Linked DNA regions of Homo sapiens: all the other regions are linked to region 1. The links are contacts of gene promoters, found by promoter capture Hi-C in human tissues and cell types (Jung and others, 2019). All regions are on one chromosome and are shown on one strand. The core of a region is centred on a gene start or on the middle of the fragment in contact, and the rest is flanking DNA. Distances in the headings are between cores, read along the strand shown.

Evidence for each region. Contacts are between HindIII fragments. The study calls those that stand out against the background at their distance.
Region 2: a fragment that was not itself captured here is called in contact with the fragment with the promoter of KCNF1 in region 1 in 5 of the 25 tissues and cell types used here (IMR-90 fibroblasts, aorta, hippocampus and 2 more).
Region 3: a fragment that was not itself captured here is called in contact with the fragment with the promoter of KCNF1 in region 1 in 2 of the 25 tissues and cell types used here (dorsolateral prefrontal cortex and hippocampus).

The regions. Positions count from the first base shown.
Region 1 is chr2:10,910,603-10,913,302 of GRCh38, reverse strand. It overlaps KCNF1 (potassium voltage-gated channel modifier subfamily F member 1), which reads right to left and starts at 1,369. Exons shown (of 1, transcript NM_002236.5): 1 at 1-1,369. The coding sequence starts at 876. The HindIII fragment of the contact is 13,350 bases long and covers 1-2,700 here.
Region 2 is chr2:10,983,504-10,986,203 of GRCh38, reverse strand. No RefSeq gene overlaps it. Among named protein-coding and RNA genes, the nearest start is that of KCNF1, 73 kb to the right of the region's middle. The HindIII fragment of the contact is 5,936 bases long and covers 1-2,700 here.
Region 3 is chr2:11,008,629-11,011,328 of GRCh38, reverse strand. No RefSeq gene overlaps it. Among named protein-coding and RNA genes, the nearest start is that of KCNF1, 98 kb to the right of the region's middle. The HindIII fragment of the contact is 3,995 bases long and covers 1-2,700 here.

The sequences.
Region 1 (2,700 bases), core at 120-2,619:
CAGCGCCTGCACGGCCTGCTGCACGTTGGTCAGCTCCATCATGCGGGCACCCAGGTGCGTGAGCGTGAGGCTCACGTAGAAGGGGAGGATGGCCAGCACGTCCACAATGTTCATGAAGGACAGCGCGAAGTGCAGCTTGTTGGGTGACGAGAAGAGGCGCAGCAGGTACTCCAGGGTGAACCAGCCAATGCACGCCGTCTCCACGTTCTCCAGCGTCGGGTGCTCCACGCGGTTGCCCTCGGCGTCCAGCACCTGCAGCTCGGGGATGGTGCCCATGCACATGACCACGGACGAGACGAGGATGAGCAGGAAGGAGAGCACGGCCACCACCCGCGCCGGGCACGACGACTCGGGCTTCTCCAGGAACTTCCAGACGCACTTCTGGCAGCGGCGCCAGCGGCCCTCGGCTGCGTCCACGCCCAGGTCGTCCAGGATGAGCTGCACGCGGCGCGCGATCTCCTCCAGCTCCTCGCGCTTCTCGCTCAGGTGGCTCTTGCAACAGTCGTCCAGGAACTTGAGGTCCACCTTCCAGAAGTCCATCTCGTTCTTGAAGCAGATGGGGCAGATGCCCTTCTTCATGTGGACCTCCCCGAAATAGTACACCTCGATGACACACTTGAAGGCGTCCGGGTCCCTGTCAAAGTAGAACTCGCGCTTGCCGGGGTCGTAGTCGTCGCACAGGGAGAAGATGGTGTCGTAGCCCCCAGCCAAGCAGTTGATGAGCTCCGCCAGCCGGGTCTCAGGGTACTGACTGAGGAGGTCCCCGTACAGCACCTGCCGCACGCCCCCCACGTTGACGACTATCTCTATGTCGTCGCTGGCAGCGGAGCTCTGGCTGCCCGGCTCCGGGAGGCTGCGCTCCCCGGACCCGTCCATCCTCCCCGCGCGCGCCCTCGCAGCCTCCGCCCCGCGCCCCCTGCAGCCGCCGCCGCCGCTGCCGCTGGGGGTCCGGCGGGTGCCACCCGTGCGCTGATCTCGGGGAGAGCCTGGCCGGCGCCCGCCTGCGGGGAAGGGCGGTCACAGCGGGCAGCAGCCTGCGGGGGCGCGCCGCGGGGGAGGCATGCACCCGGCGGCGGGGCTCGGGGCTGGCATCCGGGCGCCCGGGCGAGCCCGCGGGGGCTTTGGCGGCCGCCGGCCTCGCCCGGGGCACTCACCCCGGCTGGCTGGCGGCGCGCTCCGCCGCTTCAGCTCGGCCTCCTGCGGGAGCGGGGTCTCCTCGTGGGCGGCTGGCACCGTCCTCCGCCCCGGGGCGCGCAGGCAGCGGCGGCAGGTCCCGGAGCTGGCGGACCCACGCCGTCCGCGAGGTGCTCGAGGTGTGCAGAGAGCGAACTTGGGCTGGCTTTGCCCGAGCCTTTTCTAAACACAATAGGAATTCCAGCCTGACGTCAGGAGCTTTTCAAACTGTACCCTCTTCTGGTGAAATTCTGCAAGGCACGCGCGGCAGCTGCAGGGGACGGATTAACCCTTGGGCAGACGGGCACAGCTGCCGCGCCCGCCGCCACCACCGCGCACCGCCGGCCCCTCCTCGGGCGCAGCGGGTCACCGAGGGGTTGCGACCTGGCTTGAAGCGGCAGGCATTCTCTCTCACTGCTGTTTGGAGAGGATTAGTGGGGAGAGAATGCTGCCGCCTGTTGCTGGGCAGGAAAATGTGCTCCAGGAAGCCCCTTAGAAGGTGACTCCTATGTCTGGGTCCCTCCTCCGGCCTTAGACCCGCGCCGGCTTTTCCTGGTGGGAGGAAAATCCTGCCTGATCCTTGAAGCGTTTCCTGCCCCATCCCCCCGACCCAGCAATGCCCTGCTGTGTTGGTGGCACTGTCTCACCTTCCCCGCAACGCTGTACAAGGAGGACATCTAGTCCAGCCTCCTGTAGAAGGGAAGGGACTTGCCCAAGGTCACGCGGCGGAATGAGAGCAGAGCTCAGCTTGACCGCCTCCTGATCCCGAGCTTTCCGGCTGTCCCAGCTGACCGACGCCTGCTGTTCAGCAGATTTCAATTCTGCCTTGAAGTCCCTGCCGTCTGGCACCTCCTATCTCTCTGCAGTCCCACACCAAGGCCACTAGCTTCCAGACCCCTAGGGTCCAGTGGCTCCTGCTTCCCCGTTCCTCACTCCTTGACCAAGGCCTGTCTCTTCCTGACCAGTGTCCCACACCCTCCTCTCTTCCAGCCTTTGCAGCCACAGCTGTCCTTCTGTCCTCACTCACCTGAACCACTACAGCAGCTTCCTAACAGTGTCTCTCTCCTCCGGTTCACCACTATCATCAATACTGCAAATTACTGATATCATCTATGGCCTCGAGATCGTGTTAAAAATATTCTGGAGGGAAGAATGAATAGGCAGAGCAGAGGATTTTTAGGGCAGTGAAACGTACCATAATGGCGGATATGTGTCGTTATGCAATGGTCAAAATCCATAGAATGTTCACCACCAGGAGCGAATGTTAATGCAAACTCGGTGCTGGGCGATGATGACGTGTCCATGTGGGGTGGTCCACCATGACAAGTGTCCCACCCTGTGTGAGATGTTGATGCGCAGGGGAGAGCTGTGGAGACAGGGGGCATGTGGGAATTCTCTGTACTTTCTGTTGAATTGTGCTCTAAAATATAAAGTCTATTTAAAAATGTATTCTGTAGGCTGGGTTTTTTAAAACTTAAGGACATGTCCGTTAATGGATTATGAAATCAATTTACTGGGTCACTGACA
Region 2 (2,700 bases), core at 48-2,547, 73 kb before region 1:
CTCGTCAGTATTTAGGATGTGTGGATTCTGCCTCCTTGGTGGCTGTGGGGTCTGTCCAGTCCCCAGCTGTCTCATTGCCTTGACCTCAGTCCAGCCCATGTGCCATCCCACCACAGTCCCAGCTTCTGTCCCCGCCTGGCTCCCCTCACCCATCATGGGCTCTGCAGCCTCTAAAACATCACTTCTGTTCTGGACGCGGCCTTTGTCTATGAAGTTGCCTTCATGGTACTTTACATATTTTATTTTATTTTTAATTTCAATTTTTATTTTTTGAGATGGAGTCTCAGAAAATAGTCTCGCACTGTGACCTGGGCTGCAGTACAGCGGCGTGATCTCGGCTCACTGCAACCTCTGCCTCTCAGGTTCAAGAGATTCTCCTGCCTCAGCTCCCAAGTAGCTAGTATTGCAGGCACCCACCACCACACCTGGCTGATTTTTTTGTATTTTTAGTAGAGACGGGGTTTCACTATGTTGGCCAGGCTGGTCTCAAACTCCTGACCTCGTGATCTGCCTGCCTCAGCCTCCCAAAGTGCTGGGATTACAGGCGTGAGACACCATGCCCGGCCTACATATATGAAAATATTATTTGCTGACATTTAAAACCAAGGCCTTTCACATGCATATTCTGCTTTCCAGATTCTCTGGAAGAATCCGAGGCTCTGTGGGTGACAGGCTGCCTTTCCTCACAGGAAGCCGTCAGTGTGAGAAGGAGCTGCCCCTTCAGAAGGCGCTCCCCATCCAGTCCCCTGCTGGCTGCTTCCAGTCCCTCAGACACAGGCCTGCTTTGACACGCATCAGAGGCTTATGAATTCCATTCAGTGGATCACAGCCAGGATTTAAGAAAAAAATGAAATGGAATTAGATTGAACATATCAGGTTGACTATATTGCATGTAGCAAGGCTAAGTATTGCTTTCTGCAACTTTTAATTCAGATATTTCCATGGCCTCAGACATGTGTACTGAGTCGCGGTGTAAATCTATTTCTTACTCTGGGTCCTTAGCCTCTTGGTCTCTATCTCTTTAAAAGGCCTCCCAATCCCAAAGGAAGAAAAAGTGGGAGTGGGCAGGGGTGGTTGCCCACTGTTCTGGAAGACCTTAGAGATGAAGGGCTGCAGTGGCTTTGTCCAATAGCTTCCTGCCTCCATTCTCTGGTCTTATTCCTCTGGGGTTCCAATGAATAAAGGATTGTTTTCAAAAACGGAGGTCTGCTACACTCTGGAAGGGATCTCCACCAGTCTTCTCCGTTAGAGCAGTTTTACCCTGTGTACTCTCTTTAAACTCTTCCAGATGTTAATGGTCATTACTTGAAATAAGCCTTGTGCTCTGGCAAGTTTGGGCAGTGCTGGACTACATGAAATAAATGGGTTTCTTATCTGCAGGATTTCTCAGACACTCCAGGAGTTCTTGACATAGTGTTCTCTAGAAAATACTTTGGGAAATGCATGATTAGAGGTAAAACCTGGAGGTGCTTCAGAATTTGAAAGTTTAATTTAGGCTGGAATCTTGAAAGGAACCTGCAGAAAACTTGACTTTACTCCTTCCCACCTTACCCAGTGAATAATCCCTCATCATTGACGTCATTCACGAAATACACAGGCTATTTAGACATTGATTCTGCCCTCCACAAGCTAACAGTCTACAGTGCGTAAGATGGAGACACACATGACTGTAACACCTTGTCTCCAAGGGAAAGAAAGGTAAAGAGACAGGGTTCAGACACAGGGTTCCTGCCAGCCGAGGGGACTGGGCACTGAGAAGGAGGCAGGTGTCTTTGGGTTAGGCCTTGAAGGCCGTGTGAAATGAACACTCACGCAGAGGGGACGGGGTGGCATGGACACTCCAGGTGAGAAGGAGTGTTCTGGGGAATGTTTGGAAGAAGGTGAGCCTGAGACAAAAATAAAGGAACAGTGCTGGGGCCAACCTGCCTCTCAGAAGCAAACAGTTGGACTAATGCTTCAAGGGCACTGTATGGGTAGGAAACAAAGAAACACAGGAAGGCCAGATGTTGGGGTGCCTCAAATATGGGGCTGGAGGCTTCCACCTTCATGGTGTTGGGCAAAAGTCATGGAGGGATTTGGGGCCAGTGACAAGGGCTTCCTCAGTCTTTGACCACATGTATCCGGGCAGGGGAGTCACTGTCTCATGGCTGGATAAGCTTGTAGCCCTTTCTTCCAGTGAGCCCTATGGCTGCCACCCCGAGTCTTAGCTCTCTGTAACAAACAGCTGGGCAGGAGAACAGTGAGAACCGAGTCCTTGTCTGGTCTTTGAGATTTCCAGGGCGCTCTAGCAGCGGCACCTAGACACAGCCACCAGCCCACCGGGGGCGTTATCTCCAGGGCTGGCCAGCCAGGATGAGTAGAGCCTGTGACCCCTCTCCCCCTCCAGAATGCCTGGCGCTGTCCCTGACTTGGGGACCGTGTGGCTGTGTGTCTGTCCTCCCGTCAGCCACCAGAACAGTGTGGCCTTGGAGAAGCGCTTCATGTCGCCAGGCTGAGCAGATAACTTCCCAGGGCTGACGCGCTCTGCCTTTCAAAGGGGGCTTCTCTGTTGCAGAGCCAAAAAGCACAACACTTTTTCGGTCCAAGAGCAGAGCTCAGAAAAGTAGCTGTTGGGGGAAGTCGCCCAGCCTGAGCTCTGCGTCTTCCTCCGAAGCCTGGGGTGGAGGGAGGGAGGGATGTGCCGAGCCAGGACCAGATGGC
Region 3 (2,700 bases), core at 102-2,601, 98 kb before region 1:
GAGCTGTCCTGCAATGCCAGTGAAGCTTTATCACCCAGCTGTGACTTTCTCACTTTTTAGACTTTTATTTTAAGTTCAGGGGTACATGTGCAGGTTTGTTATATAGGTAAACTTGTGTTATGGGGGTTCGTTGTACAGATGATTTCATCACCTAGGTACTAAGGCTGGTACCCATTAGTTATTTTTCCTGATCCTCTCCCTCCTCACCCTCCACCCTCCGATAGGCCCCAGTGTGTGTTGTTCCACACTATGCGTCCACGTGTTCTCACTAGTTAGCTCCCATTTATAAGTGAGAACATGCAGTGTTAGGATTTCTGTTCCTGTGTTAGTTTGCTAAGGATAATGGCCTCCAGCTCCATCCACGTTCTTGCAAAGGACATGATCTTGTTCTTTGATGACTGCGTAGTATTCCATGGTGTATATGTACCACGTTCTCTTTATCCAGTCTACCCTTGACAGCCATTTGTGTGGTTGATTCCTTGTCTTTGCTATTGTGAATAGTCCAGCTGTGACTTTCTTGAGAGCAGGATTCAGCATGATTCCTCTCGGTACCAGGCCAATGGCGTCAGAGTTGTCCCAGAGTGGGAACTGTCAGCCACCTCCAGGGCTTTGACAGTGCCTGTGCACACTGGTGACTGCCCATGCTTCCTGGGGCCATGGCCTCGTCTCCTTCTTCATTCTACAACAGTTGCCCAACTGGCCTCCTTGGTCTGCAATCTAGCCCCTTCCATTATTTTTCCTCTATGCTGCCAGGATAAAAACAGAGTGTATCTGTGTGTTCTCAAATGGGCTATACTATCATGAGCCCCTGTAACTGTCCAGCCTCATCTCTTGATCCTTTTCCCCACCCTGCCCACCACTACTCCACACTGCAGTCGAACTAAAGCCGAAACACATTGAGCTCTCTCACCTCCAATCTTTCATTTCTTCTTCACCCGCTTCCTGGAATCCACCGTCCCACCACCCCTGACCCTTGGTCTCACCCCCTCTGGTCTCTCAGGATGTCTGCCCCTCCGGCACGTGGCCTGCCTCCTGCAGTCCTCACACACCTCCCTGGGCTTCCTGCTTTCCTAATGCCATCATGCTAGTCTAGCTGTTTATGATGCTGCCTGCCCCAGAGCTCTGGAGTCTGTGAGCACAGGATCAAGTCCTTGGTTTTCCCTGTGTCCCAGCATCTGGCGTTGGCTTGGGTGGATGTTATGTGAATGGATGCATCTGCCATAGTCTCACGCAGCAAAGGGCGGGGCTCGGGCCTGTGTCCCCTTGGCCTCCTCCTTCTGCTGCAGCATCTGTGCCTGCACAGGCTCTGCCTACGGATTCTGGGAACAGCCTCCTGTCTCTGCAGAAAACAGCTCAAAGCCCTCCTCAGATTTCAGGTCCTCCCAGAAGGCTTCCCAGACGAGGTGGGCTGAATAAGGCTCCTCACCTCCCTCAAGCTTCCGGGATGAGAAATGCTCTTTCCTTCTCTGTCCCTCTAAGCCGACCAAATAAGAAAAATGTAGGGCCTAAAAATGGAAACCAACAAGTTGAACTTCACCATAGAAATGGAGTGAGTGAATATGTGTGTGGGTGTGAAAACTAAGCAGAACTTGAACCCACCATCTGGACATCTGTCCGGGGCCTCCAAGTCCTTCTACAACACACCAGGGAGAAAAGATGGTGCAGCCACAAGCTCTAAGACTTTTACGTGTCCTTGGGGAAGGAAGAAAGGCTTGTCACATTAATTTTTTCTCAACTCCCTACTCTGGAAAATTTCAAATATATTTAAACATTGGGAGAATAGTAAAATAAGCTATCGTGTACCCACCACCAGCTTCACCAATGATCAAGTTATTGCTCAGCAAATATAAATATCTATTCATTAGAGATTTAATGATTAATTTAAAACATTGATTGTATCAAATATTAACAGTGGATATTAATATTAAGTGTTAATATATTTAAATGTTATTTATAAATGTTAATTAATTCAATTATTTATTACAATAATATATACAATAAGGTTTAGAGTGCGTAACATTTATTAGGTTGATGCAAAAGTAATTGTGGTTTTTGCCACTGAAATTAATGCGTTCTTAACACATAGCAACATCTCCAGTCACCTGGACCCAGGCCCAGCTCAAGAACATTCATGTCAGAGGGACAGAAGAGGTAACCTTCCTCTGTGCTTGTGCTTCTATATAAGACAAGAATCTAGTAGCCCCCCATGGGATCGTCTAGTCGCTCCTTGGGTTTCATGAAACTCAAGAGGGGCCTACAAAGTAAATGGCATCTAAGTGTCAGCTGTTACTGGGACATTTTGGCTTTTGGAAAACCTGGGAACAAGAGTCAGCCAACGTGGGATCTTAACAGCTGTGTCATTGGCCATGTGCATAACCTGTCTGGGACTTCATAGTTTTTGGTTTAAAAAATGGAGTAAGACCTGTTTTAGGGACCACATGGATTTCTGAGAAAGAAGGAAGAAAGAGGTGTAGTTAGGCTTTTTTATTATTATTATTATACTTTAAGTTCTAGGGTACATATGCACAACGTGCAGGTTTGTTACATATGTATACCTGTGCCATGTTGGTGTGCTGCACCCATTAACTTGTCATTTACATTAGGTATATCTCTTAATGCGATTCCTCAAGAATCTACAACTAGAAATACCATTTGACCCAGCCATCCTATTACTGGGTATATACCCAAAGGATTCTAAAT